Regions from separate parts of the Homo sapiens genome. Here regions 1, 2 and 3 are each linked to region 4. Evidence: promoter capture Hi-C in 16 types of primary human blood cells and fetal thymus (Javierre and others, 2016). All regions are on one chromosome and are shown on one strand. Each heading gives the region's core, a stretch centred on a gene start or on the middle of the fragment in contact. The rest is flanking DNA. Distances are from core to core; before and after follow the strand shown.

Evidence for each region. The method cuts DNA at HindIII sites, captures the fragments that hold promoters and counts their contacts. A CHiCAGO score of 5 or more calls a contact.
Region 1: a contact is called between the fragment with the promoter of PPP1R15B here and the fragment with the promoter of ZBED6 in region 4, in 13 of 17 cell types (non-activated CD4 T cells, fetal thymus, activated CD4 T cells and 10 more). The highest score is 23.4, in non-activated CD4 T cells.
Region 2: a contact is called between the fragment with the promoter of ADIPOR1 here and the fragment with the promoter of ZBED6 in region 4, in 6 of 17 cell types (naive B cells, naive CD4 T cells, non-activated CD4 T cells and 3 more). The highest score is 11.0, in naive B cells.
Region 3: the fragment with the promoter of PIK3C2B here is called in contact with the fragment with the promoter of ZBED6 in region 4 in 5 of 17 cell types (monocytes, fetal thymus, naive CD8 T cells and 2 more); the score reaches 9.4 in monocytes.

Annotation. Positions count from the first base shown.
Region 1 is chr1:204,410,524-204,413,223 of GRCh38, forward strand. It overlaps PPP1R15B (protein phosphatase 1 regulatory subunit 15B), which reads right to left and starts at 1,294. Exons shown (of 2, transcript NM_032833.5): 1 at 1-1,294. The coding sequence starts at 888. RefSeq lists enhancers at 271-1,105, 412-561, 822-1,521, 1,532-1,581 and a silencer at 1,040-1,486. The HindIII fragment of the contact is 5,217 bases long and covers 1-2,700 here.
Region 2 is chr1:202,956,991-202,959,690 of GRCh38, forward strand. It overlaps ADIPOR1 (adiponectin receptor 1), which reads right to left and starts at 1,322. Exons shown (of 8, transcript NM_015999.6): 1 at 1,195-1,322. RefSeq lists silencers at 991-1,550, 1,851-1,900. The HindIII fragment of the contact is 2,157 bases long and covers 1-2,092 here.
Region 3 is chr1:204,493,403-204,496,102 of GRCh38, forward strand. PIK3C2B (phosphatidylinositol-4-phosphate 3-kinase catalytic subunit type 2 beta) reads right to left here and starts at 1,403. Exons shown (of 33, transcript NM_001377334.1): 1 at 954-1,403. LOC124904584 (translation initiation factor IF-2) reads left to right here. Exons shown (of 2, transcript XM_047439554.1): 2 at 774-2,330. The coding sequence ends at 1,794. RefSeq lists enhancers at 593-782, 853-982 and a silencer at 1,083-1,552. The HindIII fragment of the contact is 4,413 bases long and covers 427-2,700 here.
Region 4 is chr1:203,794,318-203,797,017 of GRCh38, forward strand. ZBED6 (zinc finger BED-type containing 6) reads left to right here and starts at 1,306. Exons shown (of 17, transcript NM_001395895.1): 1 at 1,306-2,700. It overlaps ZC3H11A (zinc finger CCCH-type containing 11A), which reads left to right and starts at 1,306. Exons shown (of 18, transcript NM_001376342.1): 1 at 1,306-1,477. RefSeq lists an enhancer at 1,007-1,426. The HindIII fragment of the contact is 5,182 bases long and covers 1-2,410 here.

The DNA.
Region 1 (2,700 bases), core at 44-2,543, 620 kb after region 4:
AAGATGGTGAATTTCTGGTAGGCCTTCCGTAGAAAGAGGTGGACATCCCTGCCACGAGGCCGGAATGAGTTCTGCACTCAGCGGCTGGGGATGACAATGGTCCTCTCTCAGGCAGCTGCTCTCTGGGGTTAGTGTCTGGAAGCCGACTACCTCGCTATTTCCATCACTGTTCTGATAGCTGACTTCTAGCCTAGGAAAGCAGTCCAGGTAGGAAGGGTTCAGCAAATAGGATACCACACTGAAATTGTCTATGCGTTGAATGTTTAGAGGCCCAGAGGGCGAAGAGCCAAGTTCCCGGTTAGAGTACAGACGGGATTGAAGGCTACTGGGCAACAGCTCCACTCCCCACAGCTGCTGCTCTAAGAGAAAAGCCTGTGCTGCAGGGTCCAAAGCACTTCCCTTGGCCTTAAGCTCCAATTTTAGGTCTGGGGGCGAGTATTGCCAGTGGATCCCCTCCTCTAGCCAATCAAGGGGACTGGTGACCGAGGGGTCTGAGGAGTCGAGCTGCAGCGAACTCAAAGATTTCTGCGCTGTGGGGGCGGCTGGTTTCTCCCGTCCCTTCAGGGCTCTCAGGGCGCTGTAGACTCCAGCAAAATCTAGCCATCTGGTCGGAAACATTCCACCGAAAAGTTGGCTCCAAATTAGCACCTTCTGAAGCAATCCGGGGAGCGGCGCAAGGAGCTGGGAGAGCAGTTTCGTCCAGTAACTGACCCGAGTCTCGGGCTGGGCAGAGGAAAGCAGTGTGGGGTTCCCGGAGTTTTCCGGGCCAAGAGGCGTCGGGAACTTAGAAGAGCCTGCTTGCGATCGCCGAGGGAAAAAGGGTGGCCAGAACCGGAAGCCCGCCCGAGGGCCAAGCCGTTTCCGCGATCCGCCTGTCCCCGGCTCCATCTCCTTTTTCTTGACAGTCTCTCAGGTAGGGCCGCGGCGCTCAGCGGCTGGAGGTCGACGGGATTCGGAGGAAGCCTACAGAGTCTCGGCCTTGCCCAGCGGTGGCGTCGCTGCTCCAGGCCGATCTTCGAGCCAGCAGAAAAGCCACAGAGGGCAGCGAATGCGGCAGCGGGCGGCAGAACACAGGGAAGAACAGCCCGCGCAATAGGCGGCGACTGATGCGACTTCCATCCTGGCGGGGAAGGAGGTTCCCTAGTCGGCTCGACGCTTCAACACCATGGATAGGAGTCCCCCCACGGCCTCGGCGATGGTTTTCCGACTGACAGAGGGTTGAAAAGCCCCTGAGCAACGCGATACCGGAAGGACTGGGTAGGCCGGCTGGTGCGGTGGAAGCGAAGCCCAAAATGGCCGCAGGGCCCGCGCGCCGGCAGGACACCCCCCTAGACGCCGGAAGAGACGCAGGACTGTTGGGCGTCTACGTCCCTAGCGCCGCGCCGCCCAACGTCACTCGCAAAATCCCCGGGGGGCGGGCCTTTCCGCCCACTTCCGTGTGGCCGCCGATTGGTTTTGCCAGATTTCCCTGTCGGCTTCCTTACTCGAGGTAGAGCCGCACGGCAGCGTGAGGTTGCATCAGCCGGGGCGGGGGGGGGGGGGGGGGGGGGGGGGGGAATGCACGCATGCGCAGTCGTTTCTGTGTGGTCTCCTAGGAGACCGCCCCAACAGCCCTCTAGGTTAAAGGTCTTGGGGAGGGGAGGGGTTTTCAAAATAACCCGAGAATTTCCCGGAGGCGTTTTGATGGCCTAATACACACTGACGTGTGTACAGTCATCCCCTCTCATGAAATGGGGATTAGTTCCAGGACCCCGTAGACACCAGAATCCGCAGACGGTCAAGTCCCTTATGTAAAATGGTATAGTGTTTGCATATAACCTGCATACACCTTCCCAGATATTTAAACCATCCCCTAGATTAAGTATAATACCTAATACAATGCAAGTGCTATGGAACTAGTTGTTATACTGTATTTATTTGTATTATGTTTTATTATCTTTATTTTTCCCGAATATTTTCAATCCATGGAAGGTTGAATGCCCCGCGGGCCAACTGTAGGGTTATCGTAGTCTTAGATTTTTATTATTTATTTATTTGAGACAGGGTCTAGCTCTGTCGCCCAGGCTGGAGTGCAGTAGTGCGATCTCGGCTCACTGCAGCCTCAACCTCCTGGGCTCCAGTGAGCCTCCCACCTCAGCCTCCCGAGGAGCTGGGACTACAGGCTCGCACCACCACGCCCAGCTAAATTTTTTTTTTTTTTGAGACGGATTCCCACTCTGTCGCCAGGCTGGAGTGCAGTGGCGCAATCTCGGCTCACTGCAACCTCCGCCTCCCGGGTTCAAGCGATTCTCCTGCCCCAGCCTCCCTAGTAGCTGGTACTACAGGCGTGTGCCACCACGCCCAGTTAATTTTTTGTATTTTTAGTAGAGACAGGGTTTCACCATGTTGGCTAGGATGGTCTCGATCTCCTGACCTTGTGATCCGCCCGCCTCAGCCTCCCAAAGTGCTGGGATTACAGGCGTGAGCCACCGTGCTCGGCCAATTTTTGCATATTTTTATAGAGACAGGGTTTCGTCGTGTTGCCCAGGTTGGTTTCAAACTCAGCTCAAGTGATCTGCCCGCCTCGGCCTCCTAAAGTGCTGGGGTTACAGGCGTGAGCCACTGCGCCCAGCCTGACAGATATTTCAGGGTTCTCCTATTGTTCAGTACTATGTAGACCATCAACCTGAGATCTTATGTAAAAGTTGGGCAGTGCTGCGT
Region 2 (2,700 bases), core at 72-2,571, 840 kb before region 4:
ACAGGTAACATCAGTTTTTATGACTGATTTCCCAAGTGCAAATCACAATATGGGTACATAAAAGTTATTCCTGGAGTAAATACATTTAGTAGCTGCAAGCCGGTACCCTGACATTGCAATCTGTTTAGCACCACCCTAAATTCCTGGCAGTATACAGATAGTATACAACCTCAGGAACCGAAGTTGCACCATCGTAGCCTACCCAACTACTAGGAAAAGAGAAAAGCAGTGAACCGACCCCACTATTACTTCATTTCAGAAAAGAACCAGCCATTACAATCATTTGTTTTGTAGATGGCAGCCTATGTATTCTCCGCTGTATTTTCTAGCCCGTCTTCTGAATCACTTGAGGGAAGTACTATGGTTAATCTAGTAAAGTACCATGGCCTCCTAGCGCTCCTTTGACATCTGAAACGGTGTAAACTGAAATTGGCCTTGTCAGTTTCCCATTCTCCCAAAGAGCACCAGAAACTGAGGGAAAAAAAACACTTATCTATTTTCTTAAAAATCGAAGGCTTGAAGACCAAAATTCTCAAACAGAAGATAGAATACATCAATCCTAGATACCTAAGGTAATGAAATTTCATTTTCCCCCAAAGTACCTTCGATTCTGCCCCGCATTTCAGCCTTCAGGATTACCTTAACCCTGCAGAGCGATCACCAACCTCCCTTCCCACCCCATCAAAGTGAGGGCACTGTCAGGACTTGACCTGCCAAAGATTGTTGGTGGAGGAACCTTAGGGCTTCCTGGCAACCCAATGCGGCTGTTCCCCGCTGAGAGGCGGTTCGCGACCTAGGCCCGCAGCCCTCCCTCCCCACGCGCGGCGGCCTCGGGGCCAGGCTTAACTCTGGCTCTCTGGTCCCGATCTGGGGAACCCATGCATCTCCACCCCGTGGGGCTAAAGGCGCAGCACTCACAGGACTGCCGGGAGTCGGGGGACAGCCGGGGACGAGCGCCCACCGCACCTAGGCCGCCTCGGAGGCGGCGCGCAGTGGGAGGGGCCGGAAATGTTTACAACCTGACCGGCTGGATGCCTGGAGGCCAGGCGGCTCCTTGGCTGGGGCCCGAGCCCCCTGGCAAGTCGGAGCGGGTTCCCCCAACAGCTGTCTCCTCCGCAGGCCTGGGTCGGGGCCCCCGGGGTCCCCGCGCTCCCGCCGAGTCCCTGCCCACCGCGCAGCCCCTGGGAGACTTACAGCCGGGCAGGCGGGCTCTGCTGGGGGCCGCGGTCCCCCGCGCTACATCCCGCGGCGCTGGAGGCGGCCTGCGGCCGAGCGGCCCCGATCTTCAGCGCCCTCCCCGCGCCGGAAGGGGCGCGCGACCTCCCGCGTCACCTCCGCAGCCGCGTCACCTCCTCGCGGGCTCTGCCTGGGCCCTCCAATCCTAGGCCCTCTCGCGGAGTCCCAATCACAGGCCCGCGCCCGCCGGCCACACCTCCCGCCCCGGGCCCCGCCCTGCTGCCCCGCCTTCCCTGCCGCCTGCCCACCTCCCCGCCGCAGCCAGGTAACCTCCACCCGCCCCGGGGTAGAGGACGTTCGTCGGATTCTACACTCCACCTCGTTATCGCAGCCTGAAGTGCGTGATGGAGAAGAAATTTCAGAGAATGAGACAGAACGTCGGGAGGGAATGCTGAATTTTCTACCATACACCTTATCTCATCTCCTCTGTCCCCAAGGCTAGTCGTTTCACCTCTGAAACACTTCTTAATCTCTTCTTCAACCGCATGGTCCTTCCTTCCCTTCCACAAACTATTTATTGAGCCCCTACCATGTGCCAGGCCCTGGGCTAGACCTCAGTCTGCCTCCTGTTATTTTCTTATCAGAGAGCAGAATTGTTTCTAACTACTCTTGCTGGTGAACCCGTGCCCCAGTTCCTGCTCCCACAGGCACCTAGAGTGCAGATCGCGAGACAACATAGGGTAGTGCAGCCCTTGTCTGAACCACACAACACAGAAGGGGATTTCAGGGTCTGGCCATTTTCTCATTTCTCCCAAGAATGAAATAGTATTATTTTATTCCCACTTTTCAGATGAGGTAACTATCATTTGGAGGGGTTCACTAATATGCTCAAGGTCACAGACTGGCCAGGGACAGAAGCTTGGCTCTATGTGACTCTAGAGCCCCATGCTCTGGAGCCCCAGATACAGCAATACACAGTTGCTGAAAAGCAGAAAAGCAATGTCAATCTTCCTCTTGTGAGCAAACCTTTAACTCACAGGATTATCATAAGGATTAAACTATCTGATGTAGATAGAGTACTTGGCACAGTACCTCAATATGGCTGTTAACTCAAAAAAATTTTTAATTTTTCTTTTTTAGGGACAGGTTCTTACTGTCACCTAGGCTGGAATGCAGTGGTGCAATCATATCATAGCTCACTGTGCAACTAGTGCCATTCTAGAGGCAGAGAAAGTGACTCATTGTAATCTGATATAGGTGCTTCAGGGACGTGGGGTTAATTCTCTTGGTCCTAGTTAAAAGCATGGGCTCTGGAGTCACATAGAGCCAAGCTTCTGTCCCAGGCCAGTCTATGATCTTGAGCACATTACTGAACCCCTCCAAATGATAATTACCTCATCTGAAAAGTGGGAATAAAATAATACTATTTCATTGGGTCTTTGTCAGGATTGAGTGAGATAATTCATGCAGGCTCTTATTATGAGGCCTAGCCAATGGTAAGTGCTTTATAAATGTTAGCTATTA
Region 3 (2,700 bases), core at 153-2,652, 700 kb after region 4:
ACAATACAGCGATTCCATCCCAGGCATGATTGGAAGGGCTGGGGCAGGGAAGCTACGAAGACCCCAGAAGCGGGTGGAGAGGAGAAAAGGCAGGCCTGAAGGAGCAAGAGCAATGGCAGAAAACACACACACACACACACACACACACACACTTCAACATCAGCCAACTAGGGTGTGTGCACTAACCTCATACATTTGGTAACCTCTTCCCACAATCCAGAAGCCTGCCAAGCCCCTGGGCTCCCCACCCTACTCCACCCCACACCAGCTTGGCAGCCTTGCTTGTGCTTCCTGCTGCGATTGCTCCTCCAACATCAAAGTCACCGCTGTCGGGAGCTGAAAATGAGGGACAAGTATAGGCCAGGAGAGCAGCGCCTTCTCCCAGCACCGGCGAACTCAGGCCTGAGGGTCCCTCTCCCTCTTTCAAGCTTTCAGTCTCCTTTTGCTGCAGTATCCTTATAAGGGAGAATCCAATTCTACCCTCCGCCCGACTAAGAAACGTACACATTCCCCAGGCTAGATGCCGACTTCTCACCCAGTCCACAGAAGGCACTAACCCCATCACAGGACAGGTTTTGCTTTTTTTATTTCTTATCTTAAATAAACAAACCCCAAAGCCATTGACTGGTTCAGATCGCCCTGCAGCTGGGAGCCAGGAAGTGTGTTTAGCGAGAAGGGGGTGGGGACGCGGGTGCCTGGAGCCCCAGAGGCCCTGAAGCTGCTGGAGTGGAGTGGAGTGGGGTGAGGGGCAACCTGCTCTGCCCGGCGGGCAGGAGCTCAGGCTCCCACGGCGTCCGCCGCTCAGCCCGCCGCCAGGAACCCTCGGCTGCTTCCATTGTTGCACCTCCGCTGTTGCCATGTTGGAGGGAGAGCCCCCTGACCTCGGCTGCCTCCACTCTGGGGGCACTTTACAGACGCTGGGGCCGATGCAACCCGCAGGATGCGTGTCCTACCTGCGCTAGCTGCTGGCTCTGCTGCAACATCCGACGTGTCTTGTGCCTGGCGACGTGGGCTGCTCGCTCCGCGCCTCCCGGGCTCGCTCTGCGGCTCCAGGCGCCTCTTGCACCAGCGCGAGAGGAGCTGGCCGGCCGCACGCCGCCTGCTCCCGGGCCGCTCCCCTCTCCAGGCTCCGCACAGACCCTAGGCTCCAAGGGGCAGAGGGAGAGGCAGCAAAGGGCGCAAGGACCAGCTTGTGGGGGTGGGGAGGGGTGCTCTCCGCCGAGAGCGTGCGCGAGCTCGCAGAGTCAGGCCACCCCGGGTGAGACAATAGCGGCAGCAGCGGGCGAGAGAGGGGAAGCCATCTCCCGGACACCCGGCGCACTGCACGGCGACGCGACGCTCGGCCAGACCCTGCCTGGACAGGCAGGCACCCGGCCGCCGGCTCCAGCCGCAGCGCCGAATCCGCCGCGAGCCGGAGGGCGGGGCGGCTGCTGGAACCCGGGCCGCCCTTCGCCTCTCCCCTCCCCTTCCCCCTCCTCTTCTCTTCTCCTCTCCTCCTCTCCCCTCCGACTCCCGCCCCACTTGCCATTGCGTGGGGGAAGAGAAACGCGCTGGCGTCAAGTTGTGCTCTGCAACCCAAGAGCCAGGATTTCCACTCCCCACTTGGGTGAGGGTTTTTGCGGATGGTCGTTAGTTTCCCCTGCTGGAACCCCTTGGCTTTGGGTCAGAGGAAAGCTCAATCATTCTGCTAGAAATGACGGTGCTGAGGTCCAGTTATCCGTTTCAGGAATTTCTACCATAATTACGGTAGCGATGTTCGGGGGATCCCCTACCTTGAGGGTTAGGTTGGGGTAGAGAGAGGCTGTCTCCGGGCTTTACACGCTCAGTGTCATTCGTCTTTCTGTCTCCTTCCTTCCTCCCTTTCTGGAAGGGGAGTCTCGTTTGTTTTTGTATTCGCCCAGGTGGATCTTCCGAGCTGCGATCCAGGAAACAGCAGTCAACCTAAGTAGGGAGGGGAGATAGAGGATCCTCCAACCCAACTAGGGTAGTGAGAAAAAAAAGTAAAAAAAAAAAACCTTTCATACAATATGTTATATTTAAATTTTCTACTCTAAATACCTTTCTTCCAGCAGTGGTCTCTGGAAGAATTTTCCTAAAGGCTCCACCCAAAAGAAACCATGAGTTGGCCAGCTCCTCGTTTGCATTTGGTTTGCATAGTACCAACGATCACTAATCTCAAAGTATATTTTCCTAAAAACGTGAATCGTGTTTTCCTCCACTGCCCTCATTTCTTCTTTCTTTCTCGACAGACTATGAAGATTAACACCTGGTCCTCAGCCTCTCAAGTAAAACCATGATTAAATAAATTTGTTATGCTTTTCTCTGGTTAACTTGTCTTTTGTTATAGAAGTGTCGGCTGTGACTCTTATGATGGGGAGGAAAGGGATCACTCCCCTTTCTGATCCTACAGTGCCTTCTGTACCCAATGCTTGTGACTTTCAGTATTCCACTTCACCCTCTGAATATCAAGAATAGCGTCCTCACCTATCACGCTTTCGTAATGATCAAAGGAGAGAATGTAGGTGAAACATCTTGATAATTAACTGAAGGCAGCTTGGTCTGCACATATGTCATAATGTATATGATGCTACTCCTGATCTCAGGAGCCACAGGGGTTAAAAAACGTGTCCGTGCACTTCTTCACCATACAAATATTTATGACAGCTTACTCTGTGTCTGTCATCAGGTCAAGCTCAGGAG
Region 4 (2,700 bases), core at 56-2,555:
GCTCTGATAAATTCCTAGTCTTGGGCTGCCTGGGACTCGCACATCACCAACCCGGCAGCTGGAAGAACAAGCACACGAGGAAATAAAAGGTGCCTGAAGTCCCATCTGCTTTATCATCAAGTGTTTCCTTTCTTAGTAGCACAACTATATCCTTTACCCAAGTTAGGTAAAATGTTGCCACCTAATTAGAGTTCTGCTGAGCCACTACCCCAGGGGGACCTTGGGCTCCTATTATATGTGTAATATATTTAAGTATATTTTCAGTGTAAAAGCCAGAAAGGATATATGGTAAGTTAATGAGAGCTATTTCTCAAGAATGAGATTAATAGAGATTTTAACTTTCTACTCTCTATATTTCTGTATTGTTTCTAAAAAAACTTACGTGTATTAAGTTTTTTACTTTTTTTTTTTTTTTTTTTTTTTGAGATGGAGTCTTACTCTGTCGCCAGGTTGGAGTGCAGTGGTGCGATGTCAGCTCAATGCAACCTCTGCCTCCCAGATTCAAGCGATTCTCCTGCCTCAGCCTCTCGAGTAGTTGGGACTACAGGCGCGTGCCACCACGCCTAGCTAATTTTTGTATTTTTGGTAAAGATGAGGTTTCACCATGTTGACCAGGATGGTCTCGATCTCTTGACCTTGTGATCCGCCTGCCGAGGCCTCCCAAAGTGCTGGAATTACAGTCGTGAGCCACCGCACCGGCCACGTGTATTACTTTTATAACCGGGGGAAAAAGTAAAAACATTCAAAAGGGAAAATAAGGGACAATGTTAATAATGAAGCAGGGATGAGACTGCTGATTGCGACCTCCAACTAACTCTCCTGAATTTTGTCACGAGCATGAATTACTTTTCCAATACACAAATTTGCTTTAAGAAATCAAAGAAACACCCCCCCAAAGCCCAATCTCACTTCTTCAAGTAAAAAATAAACTAACAAATCATTCTACATTGCATGCTTAGGAAAAGTACAGTTTATTTCTAAATTAAATGTATACATGGTTTGGGAGATTTACTCATTAAGCAAACACTTTGGTAAGAATAAATTGAGCGCTTACTGAATGGCAGTCTCAGTTCCTGCGGCCCTCCCGCTTATTACCTCATTTGATTTAAAAACAAAAACAAAACGTTATGAAAGCCGGCTTCGAGGCATTCCTCTGAAGGGAAGGGACTCCCCGACCCAGCGCCTCCCCCGTCACGTGACCCTGTGACCCGGAGCAGCCATCTTAGGCATCGCCTCATAGAGGAACTACATCTTCCAGAATCCTCGCGCCCTGCGTCGTGCTGGCACTTTTACCGGCCGGGCCTTAGAGCGGAGCCTGTAGCCAGGCGCCATCTTTGACGCTGGCAGTCTTGGTTTTCTGCTAGTGCTGCTGCTGCTGGGAGGACGACGGACGGCAGCGGCCAAGCAAGAAGAAAGACGTGGCAGCAAGCGGGAGTCGGGGATAGTGTCATCGGTTCGGTAAAGTTTCTGTTCTCTGGTAACTAGACCCGTTTTTTTGATTCCCGGGTGGCTTGGGGCCGGGGAGGTGGGGGAGAGGGCGAGGGGAGTGGCAGCGGCCTCCCCTCGCCCCTGGGTCGCGGCCTATCCCGGGAAGTCAGAGCGGATCCTTCAGCTTCGCCGTAACGACCCCTCCCCCCCACCTCCCGGTCGCGGCCCTCGCCGGGGCTGGCTGGGAGCCCCAGGCTCCCGCTCACTTTTCCCATCCTCCCCACCCCCACCCCGTTCACCCCACCCCCACGGCGCCTGCTCCTTTCCCAGCCAACCTTCCTCCCCTCCCCCACATCCGGTGTTCGCTAATCTCGAGGAGCCCGGAGCAGCCCCGAAAACCGACTGTTCCCCCGAATCCCGAAGAGAGAACTGACACTAGATTGCTTTCTTCGGGGCAACAGTTTCTCTAGTTGAGCGGACCCTCACTGCCTAAATCAATCAGACTGAGTGCCGGGCGCTGAATTTACCTACTCTCATTCCTCTCCAGGGTCCCGGTACTTTGGAGCTTGTCTCAAACTCCACATACAGAAAGCCACCGACCTTATTCCGGTATCCTACACCCATTCCCCACTCTCATTACACTCCCACCCCTGGCCCTCAGCGTCGGAGTCAAGAGCAACAGGGACACTTCCGTTCTCCTTGTAGGACTGGTGAAACCGTAATGAAGAACACCCCTAAACTCCCATAATCGGTGCGGATTCCTATGGGGAAGGCCTATATTGTTGACATCTTCCAGGCCTTGGTTCTGGACCTTGAGAAAGAGGCTGTGGAACTAGAGATAGCGATGCTTTTTAGGGTAAATGTATGTAGGTATTGGGGGAAGGGGAGGGATCAATCGAAAAATGGAAGTGGTTTAAAGTTCATATTTCACTTTTTGCTATCTCTATAGCGTACAACTTGTGAGTTACTTACAGGCTGTAAAAGCTTCTCAAGTCTAAAAATATCTGAAAACTAAACTTGAATTAACTCTTAATACAAACAGTACTTTGAAAATGCAGCATTTAACCTTGTTTTAAAATTTTTTTCTCAAAGCATTTTTTTCCAGCCACTCACATTTTAAAAGGTTGTATTACTTTTAGTTAGAACTGAAAGGGCTCAACTAGCATTTGCTGTGACCAGTATGCGGAGTCTGTGTTGGCTTTCCAGAATTGACTTTTTGGGTTGTATTGGCAAATCACAGTCCTAAATGATGAATGTTGAATGATGCACTAT